Linked DNA regions of Homo sapiens: region 2 is linked to region 1. The links are contacts of gene promoters, found by promoter capture Hi-C in human tissues and cell types (Jung and others, 2019). All regions are on one chromosome and are shown on one strand. Each heading gives the region's core, a stretch centred on a gene start or on the middle of the fragment in contact. The rest is flanking DNA. Distances are from core to core; before and after follow the strand shown. Region 1 holds the start of RIC3 (RIC3 acetylcholine receptor chaperone). Region 2 overlaps STK33 (serine/threonine kinase 33).

The links. Contacts are between HindIII fragments. The study calls those that stand out against the background at their distance.
Region 2: a contact is called between a fragment that was not itself captured here and the fragment with the promoter of RIC3 in region 1, in 2 of the 25 tissues and cell types used here (adrenal gland and pancreas).

Annotation. Positions count from the first base shown.
Region 1 is chr11:8,166,970-8,171,210 of GRCh38, reverse strand. RIC3 (RIC3 acetylcholine receptor chaperone) reads left to right here and starts at 2,186. Exons shown (of 6, transcript NM_001206671.4): 1 at 2,186-2,345. The coding sequence starts at 2,222. It overlaps RIC3-DT (RIC3 divergent transcript), which reads right to left and starts at 2,141. Exons shown (of 5, transcript NR_187234.1): 1 at 2,022-2,141; 2 at 1,223-1,326. The HindIII fragment of the contact is 6,174 bases long and covers 1,346-4,241 here.
Region 2 is chr11:8,489,476-8,493,921 of GRCh38, reverse strand. All of the region lies in intron 1 of STK33 (serine/threonine kinase 33), which reads left to right. Among named protein-coding and RNA genes, the nearest start is that of STK33, 100 kb to the left of the region's middle. The HindIII fragment of the contact is 7,301 bases long and covers 1-4,446 here.

The sequences.
Region 1 (4,241 bases), core at 937-3,436:
AACATCAATGATAATAATGCCCGAGTGAAGCCAGCAGTGGCACCCATCTGGCTGCATGAATCAAGGAAAGAGATTCAGAAGATATCCATTGCTTTAAAAAAATCAAACAATTTTTTTTTAGAGACAGGGTCTCACTCTGTCACCCTGGCTGGAGTGGGTGCCCCTACTGGCTTCATTCAGGCATTATTATCATCTTATATATCATAATTAATTGTGGTTTCACACAATCATAGCTCACTGCAGCCTCAAACTCTTGGGCTCAAGTGATCTTCCCACCTCAGCTTCCTGAGTAGTTGGGACTACAGGTGCACACCACCATGCCTGGTTAATTTTTTACATTTTTTTGGTAGAGATTAGGGCTCTCCCTATGTTGCCCAGGCTGGCCTTGAACTCTTGGCCTCAAGCCATCCTCCAGCCTTGGCCTCCCAAAGCCCTGGGATTATAGGTGTGAGCCACTGTGCCCAGTCTCAACTGCTTTTTAATCAGATTTCCAGCCAATCCTTCATTCAGACCCACTCTGCACCCTTGGCTTTAAAGGAACCCAGTACCTCCAATTCTTAAGAGCATGGGTTCTGAGGGGCAAATTAGTTCACTCCTTACAGGCTTTCAGTCCACAGGCATTTAACTTTTTATGCTCTACACCTGCACTGTCTACTGTGGGCGCCAACGAGCCACACTATCGTGCTGATAAAATTTGAAATATTTTTGCTATCTTGGTTTAAAATATTATTAAAATAAATTTTACTTATTTTTACTTTTTAAATGTGGCTACTGGAAAAATTTAAATTACATATGTGGCTGGTATTATGTGTCTATTGGACAGTGTTGTGTGCGTCTTACAAAATTGACATTTCTCATCTGCTGTCATGTTTTCTATCATTGCATTTAGTCTTGTAGTTTATATACTTTATTTCTTTATTTTCCTTTTTGGGCACTGTCCCAGGAAAGCAAAGATAAATGCATATGTTACATCTGTCATGTTTAACTGGAAGTTCTACCTAAGCTTTTCACAATGTAGCTCCTGCTTATATTTGTGCACTTCGTGTCCTGTCACTACTCTATGGCCCTGCCAAAATGAATTACCAATAGCTTTCTGAACACACCAGGAAGCTTCCAGATTTGCCTTTATTTTTTTGGCCTCCTTTTTCCGGAATACCTTTCTAACCCCTCCCACCTGTCTGCCTATAAGTTACTCATTTTTCAACAGCTAACTCAATTTCACCTTCTCAAAGGGGCTTTTCTTGACTTTTCCTCGTACCAGTTGAGAAGACTGCTCGGGGATCCAGAATATTTCCTGCATTTTTTTTGTTTGGATAATTATCTGTCCTACAAAGGGAATCCATTTTATTCATCAGACCCTGTAGTGCCAAGTTGAGGGTCTAATACATAGTAAAAACTAAAATAATGTTAAATGAACGAATGAAGAGAGTAACAAAGAACGGTGGGATTGTAGAGAAAGGAGAGGCTGACTGAAAACGTTTCGAGAGAGCAGTGTTTTTAAGCTGTTCTTCAGAGAAGTTTTTGACAACTGGAGATGGTGTCAGGAATTTTCCAGGCAGTGGGAACAGGACAAGCAAAGCTTCCCTGAAGACAAGCAATATGCTAAAGAAATAGCAAATCATCCAGTTTGGAAGGAGCATTGGTAAGACCAGATCATGCAGGGCGTTGAGGTTATAGAAAGGAGTTTAACTATTGTTCTGAAGATAATGGAGAGTTAAAAGGTTTAAGCTGGAGAGAAAGAGAATTAGTCTTGTGTTTTAGCATTATCACCTGTGGCTGCAGACGGATAATGAATGCGAGGGGCATGAGTGGAAGCTGGAAGACAGCGAGATCATGGAGATGAGGAGAAACTGGATGTTGTGATCTACGGGTGGGTGGGGGGCAGTGGTGGTAAGTGGGGATAGAGATCCGGGCACGACCGCCGGATGTGTAGGCGGTAGAATGCACAGGACTCAGTAAAAGATGAACATGGGGAGTGAGGGAGGAGTTTTTAGTTAGTATGAACGGGAAGGCGAGGGTACCATTTACAGCGACGGGTAACCACGCGGGAGGAGCAGGTCAACTCCCGACAGTGGAGGTGAAGATGCGTGCGCCTCGCGCACCTTGTCCCTCGCGCGACGCCGTCCGCGCCGCCCGCGGTTCGGTCGGGAGCGGCAGCCCGTGCTCCGGTTCCGGTTCCGGTTCCGGCTGGCGTCTGCACCTGCGACCACCGTGAGCAGTCATGGCGTACTCCACAGTGCAGAGAGTCGCTCTGGCTTCTGGGCTTGTCCTGGCTCTGTCGCTGCTGCTGCCCAAGGCCTTCCTGTCCCGCGGGAAGCGGCAGGAGCCGCCGCCGACACCTGAAGGTAAGAGCAGGCCAGCTCCCTCTGAGCTTCCCGGCGCCGAAGAGTACGGAGAACGCTGCTTGAGGGAGGGGTGACTCTGAGAGTCTGCAGCCTTCACCGAAATATCCACCAAACTGACTGGAGAGGGCGGGCGAGACGGCGTTGAAGGGCCAATGCCCACGGTTCCGTTGTTATCAGCGGGTGGCGGCCCAGATGGTTCTGCTGCTGGAAGGGTCAGGAACGTATGCATGCAGGTCTGTGCATCCTCTAGGTGGCCTTGCGTACTCCCGTTTAGGCGCAGTCCCTTCTCTCTTACCCCGCTGGCTTAACTCATCTCGTCACCATTTGTTCACGTGCTTTGAGTCAAGGGTTCCCAGTTGGGTTTCCCTCTTTAGGTTTTCCGTGTACTTTCTGACGCGCCGCTTGGTACGAAATCAAGGCAAATGGAATTGGTACAGCAAACCTTAAGTCGTTATGTTTTTTCAACTTGGTGCTGGGCGCTCACTGCTTCAGGCTCTTCTTGTGCCTTTAAAAATATATCTTGAAGATTTTAATAACCCCAGTTTCAGTTACTGAGGTGGTTATGAACAAATTATTACGTTCCCCTTATTGAAACAGTATTTATCTGTTAATTCTTCGTTGTTGGCATGATGTATGTGGTGTTTAAAAATTCATCCTCTTAGCTGCACTGGGGCCTTTTACAGAATGAGTGTAAAGGCACGGTGCTGAAGGCTGGGAGAAGGAACCAGAACAGTTTTCTATAGGTCATGAAGTTCTACTGGTAACTTTCTCCTGTAAATTATCCTTGTAATATCTTTGAGACATGATTTTACGGTGTCTGAACACTTCCAGTAATGTTTAAACTGTTGATTGCTGGACAGCTCCTTTTGAACTGTAATCCACTTCCGTCTGCTTTATGCACATTGACTGTAGTTCCATTCTCTTGAGCATCATACACACTATAAATGCAAAGCACCAAGCTTTAGGGGTGGAGGGCAGGTTGAACACATAATTCTGTTTACAGAATTTGCCTGATAATCTTTATGCTTGTAAGACTATCCACTTGGGACGGACTTCTAAAACATCTTTGCGTATTTGTTCTTTTTTTTTCCTTTCTGTCTTATTGCAATAATCCCAAAGATTTTTACCTGCTTTGTCTAATGATATTGTCTACTTTGAAGAAGAGTCAATTCATGATGATCCTGAACAGTGAAGATTCTTCGAAAACTTTTTTTTTTTTTTTTTTACTTTCCATTATGGTGAATTATCTTGAACAAGTACTATTGACTGTGAGTGGGAGACACTCTTCTGAACGTTGTAGAAAATGTAGAGTGGAGATTAGACATGGGTTGTTCCCTTGAGAACTCAAGTGTTGGTATTCAGTGTTCTCATGTTAGGATCTTTGTACCTTCAGTTCTCTTTATTCCTGAAGTGCTGTGCTTTTCCCTCAGTGCCCTTCTCATCATTCAAATTTCTGCTCAAATGAAACCTCCTCAGAGAGACTTCCCCTGATGACACTAACTAAAATAACTCTTTTCTCCCATCATTCTCTATTTTATCATGTTTTATATTCTTCATGATAGGCATCACTATATGATATGGAATATTCTTAAGTGTTTACTTGTTTGTTTTTTTGTCTTCACCTTCTAGAATGTAAGTTTGCAAGGGTAGGGACTTTGTCTTGTTTACCACTGTTTCTTCAGTACCTGGCATATAATGGGCAGTCAATAAATACTTTAAGATTATTAAGCTACCAATACTGTAAATTCTGTTTTTGACAAGGAGAAGCTACTGAAGTAGTATAACCTAGGAAAAAACTTACCTTGAATGGTACATTCCAGTAACTGAAACTTGCAGCAAAAAATCTTAACCATTTTGGGGTTACATACACCATTGAGAATCTTATAAAAGCTATGT
Region 2 (4,446 bases), core at 342-2,841, 320 kb before region 1:
TTTGAGAGTCTTTAGCATGAAGGGCTGTTGAATTTTGTCAAAGTCCTTTTCTGCATCTATTAAGATAGTCATGTGGTTTTTGTCATTGGTTCTGTTTATGTGATGGATTACATATAGTGATTTGGGTATGTTGAACCAGTCTTGCATCCCAGGGATGAAGCCAACTTGATCGTGGTGGATAAACTTTTTGATGTGCTGCTGGATTCAGTTTGCCAGTATTTTATTGAGGATTTTAGCATTGATGTTCATCAGGGATATTGTTCTAAAATTCTCTTTTTTTGTTGTGTCTCTGCCAGGCTTTGGTATCAGGATGATGCTGGCCTCATAAAATGAGTTAGGGAGGATTTTCTCTTTTTCTATTGATTGAAATCGTTTCAGAAGGAATGGTACCAGCTCCTGTTCATACCTCTGGTAGAATTCCACTGTGAATCCGTCTGGTCCTGGACATTTTTTGGTTGGTAGGCTGTTTATTATTGCCTCAATTTCAGAGCCTGTTATTGGTCTATTCAGAGATTGAACTTCTTCCTTGTTTAGTCTTGGGAGGGTGTATGTGTCCAGGAATTTATCAATTTTTTCTAGATTTTCTATTTTATTTGCATAGAGATGTTTACAGTATTCTCTGATGGTAGTTTGTATTTCTGTGTCATCGGTGGTGCTATCCCCTTTATCATCTTTATTGTGTCTATTTGATTCTTCTCTGTTTTCTTCTTTATTAGTCTTGCTAGCGGTCCATCAATTGTGTTGATCTTTTCAAAAAACCAGCTCCCAGATTCATTGATTTTTTGAAGGGTTTTTTGTGTCTCTATCTCCTTCAGTTCTGCTCTGATCTTAGTTATTTCTTGCCTTCTGCTAGTTATTGAATTTGTTTGCTCTTGCTTCTCTAGTTCTTTTAATTGTAATGTTAGGGTGTCAATTTTAGATCTTTCCTGCTTTCTCTTGTGGGCATTTAGTGCTATAAGTTTCCCTCTATACACTGCTTTAAATGTGTCCCAGAGATTCTGGTACGTTTTGTCTTCGTTCTCATTGGTTTCAAAGAACATCTTTATTTCTGCCTTCATTTCGTTATTTACCCAGTAGTCATTCAGAAGTAAGTTGTTCAGTTTCCATGCACTTTTCAGGATTTGAGTGAGTTTCTTAATCCTGAGTTCTAATTTGATTGCACTGTCATATGAGAGACAGTTTGTTGTGATTTCTGTTCTTTTACATTTGCTGAGGAGAGCTTTGCTTCCAACTATGTGGTCAATTTTGGAATAAGTGTGATGTGGTGCTGAGAAGAATGTATATTCTGTTGATTTGGGGTGGAGAGTTCTGTAGATGACTATTTAGTTGGCTTGGTGCACAGCTGAGTTCAAGTCCTGGATATCCTTGTTAACTTTCTGTCTCGTTGATCTGTCTAATATTGACAGTGGGGTGTTATAGTCTTCTGTTATTATTGTGTGGGAGTCTAAGTCTCTTTGTAGTTCTCTAATGACTTGCTTTATGAATCTGGGTGCTCTGGTATTGGGTACATATATAATTAGGATAGTTAGCTCTTCTTGTTGAATTGATCCCTTTACCATTATGTAGTGGCCTTCTTTGTCTCTTTTGATCTTTGTTGGTTTAAAGTCTGTTTTATCAGAGACTAGGATTGCAACCCCTGCTTTTTTTTTTGTTTTCCATTTGCTTGGTAGATCTTCCTCCATCCCTTTATTTTGAGCCTATGTGTGTCTCTGCACGTGAGATGGGTTTCCTGAATACAGCACACTGATGGGTCTTGACTCTTTATCTCATTGGCCAGTCTGTGTCTTTTAATTGGGGCATTTAGCCCATTTACATTTAAGGTTAATATTGTTATGTGTGAATTAGATCCTGTCATTATGATGTTAGCTGGTTATTTTGCCTGTTAGTTGATGCAGTTTCTTCCTAGCATTGATGGTCTTTACAATTTGGCGTGTTTTTGCAGTGGCTGGTACTGGTTGTTCCTTTCCGTGTTTGGTGCTTCCTTCAGGAGCTCTTTTAGGGCAGGCCTGGTGGTGACAAAATCTCTCAGCATTTGCTTGTCTAGAAAGGATTTTATTTCCTCTTCACTTGTGAAGCTTAGTTGGCTGGATATGAAATTCTGGGTTGAAAATTCTTTTCTTTAAGAATGTTGAATATTGGCTCTCACTCTCTTCTGGCTTGTAGAGTTTCTGCTGAGAGATCTGCTGTTAGTCTGATGGGCTTCCCTTTGTGAGTAACCTGACCTTTCTCTCTGGCTGCCCTTAACATTGTTTTCCTTCAATTCAATCTTGGTAAATCTGACAATTATGTGTCTTGGGGTTGCTCTTCTCAAGGAATATCTTTATGGTGTTCTCTGTATTTCCTGAATTTGAATGTTGGCCTGCCTTGCTAGGTTGGGGAAATTCTCCTGGATAATATCCTGAAGAGTGTTTTCCAACTTGGTTCCATTCTCCCTGTCACTTTCAGTTTCACCAATCAAACGTAGATTTGGTCTTTTCACCTAGTCCCATATTTCTTGGAGGCTTTGTTCATTTCTGTTTACTCTTTTTTCTCTAAACTTCTCCTCTTGCTTTATTTCATTCATTTGATCTTCAGTCACTGATACCCTTTCTTCCACTTGATCAAATCGGCTACTGAAGCTTGTACATGCATCATGTAGTTCTTGCGCCATGGTTTTCAGCTCCATCAGGTCATTTAAGTTCTTTTCTACACTGTTTATTCTAGTTAGCTATTCGTCTAATCTTTTTTCAAGGTTTTTAGCTTCCTTGCGATAGGTTCAAACATCCTCATTTAGCTTGGAGAAGTTTCTTATTCCTGACCTTCTGAAGCCTACTTCTGTCAACTTGTCAAAATCATTGTCTGTCCAGCTTTGTTCTGTTACTGGCGAGGAGCTGCAATCCTTTGGAGGAGAAGAGGTGCTCTGGTTTTTAGAATTTTCAGCTTTTCTATTCTGGTTTCTCCCCATCTTTGTGGTTTTTATCTACCTTTGGTCTTTGATGTTGGTGACCTACAGATGGGGTTTTGGTGTGGATATCCTTTTTGTTGATGTTGATCCTATTCCTTTCCGTTTGTTGGTTTTCCTTTTAACAGTCAGATCCCTTAGCTGCAGGTGTGTTGGAGTTTGCTGGAGGTCTACTCCAGACCGTGTTTCCCTGGGGATCACCAGCAGAGGCTGCAGAACAACAAAGATTGCAGAACAGCAAATATTTCTGCCTGATCCTTCTGGAAGCTTTGTTCCAGAGGGGCACCTGCCTGTATGAGGTGTCAATCAGCCCCCTACTGGAAGGTGTCTCCAGTTAGGCTACACAGGGGTCAGGGACCCACTTGAGGAGGTAGTCTGTCCGTTCTCAGAGCTCAAACACCATGCTGGGAGAACCACTGCTCTCTTCACAGCTGTGAGACGGGGACGTTTAAGTCTGCAGAAGTTTCTGCTGCCTTTTCTTCAGTTATGCCCTGCCCCCAGACGTGGAGTCTACAGAGGCAGCAGGCCTTGGTGAGCTGTGGTGCGCTCTGCCCAGTTCAAGCTTCCCTGACTGCTTTGTTTACCTACTCAAGCCTCAGCAATGGTGGACGCCCCTCCCCCTGCCAGGTTGCTGCCTCACAGATCCTTCTCAGACTGCTGTGCTGGCAGTGAGCAAGGCTCCATAGGCGTAGGACCTATCCAGCCATGCAGGGGATATAATCTCCTGGTGTGCCGTTTGCTAAGACCATTGGAAAAGTACAGTATTTAGGCAGGAGTGTCCTGTTTTTCCAGGTATGGTCTGTCACAGTTTCCCTTGGCTAGGAAAGGGAAATCCCTCGACCCCTGCACTTCCTGGGTGAGGCAACGCCTCGCCCTGCTTCGGCTCGCCCTCCATGGGCTGCACCCACTGTCCAACCCATCCCAATGAGATGAACCAGGTACCTCAGTTGGAAATGCAGAAATCACCCATCTTCTGCGTTGATCACAGTGGGAGCTGTAGACCAGAGCTGTTCCTATTCGGCCATCTTGGAATGGGATCCTGTGTTGTTTTTTTTTAATTGTTTACTTTTTGTCCCTCAAACTAGCTAATCTCAATCAATCTTCAGGTTTACTATTTCTTCTGCCTGCTCAAAACTGCAGTTGAGCCGCTGTAGTGAAGTTTTCATTTTAGTTATTATGCTTTTTAACTCCAGAATTGCTATTTAATTTAAAAAAATAATTTATGTATCACTAAGGTTTGAATGTGTCTCCCAAAAGTTTATGTGCTGGAAAGTTAATTGTCATTGTAACAGTATTAAGAGTTAGGACCTTTAAGAGGTGATTAGGTCATAAGAGCTCTGCCCTCATGAATATATTAATGCTATTATCATGGTTTAGTTATTACAGCCTTGGGGCTCCTGATAAAATGATGAGTTTGGCCTGGTTTCCTCACTCTCTCTTGCATGCTTGCTTACCATGTGATGCCTTCCACCATGAGATGATATTCACCAGGTGCTAGTGCCATG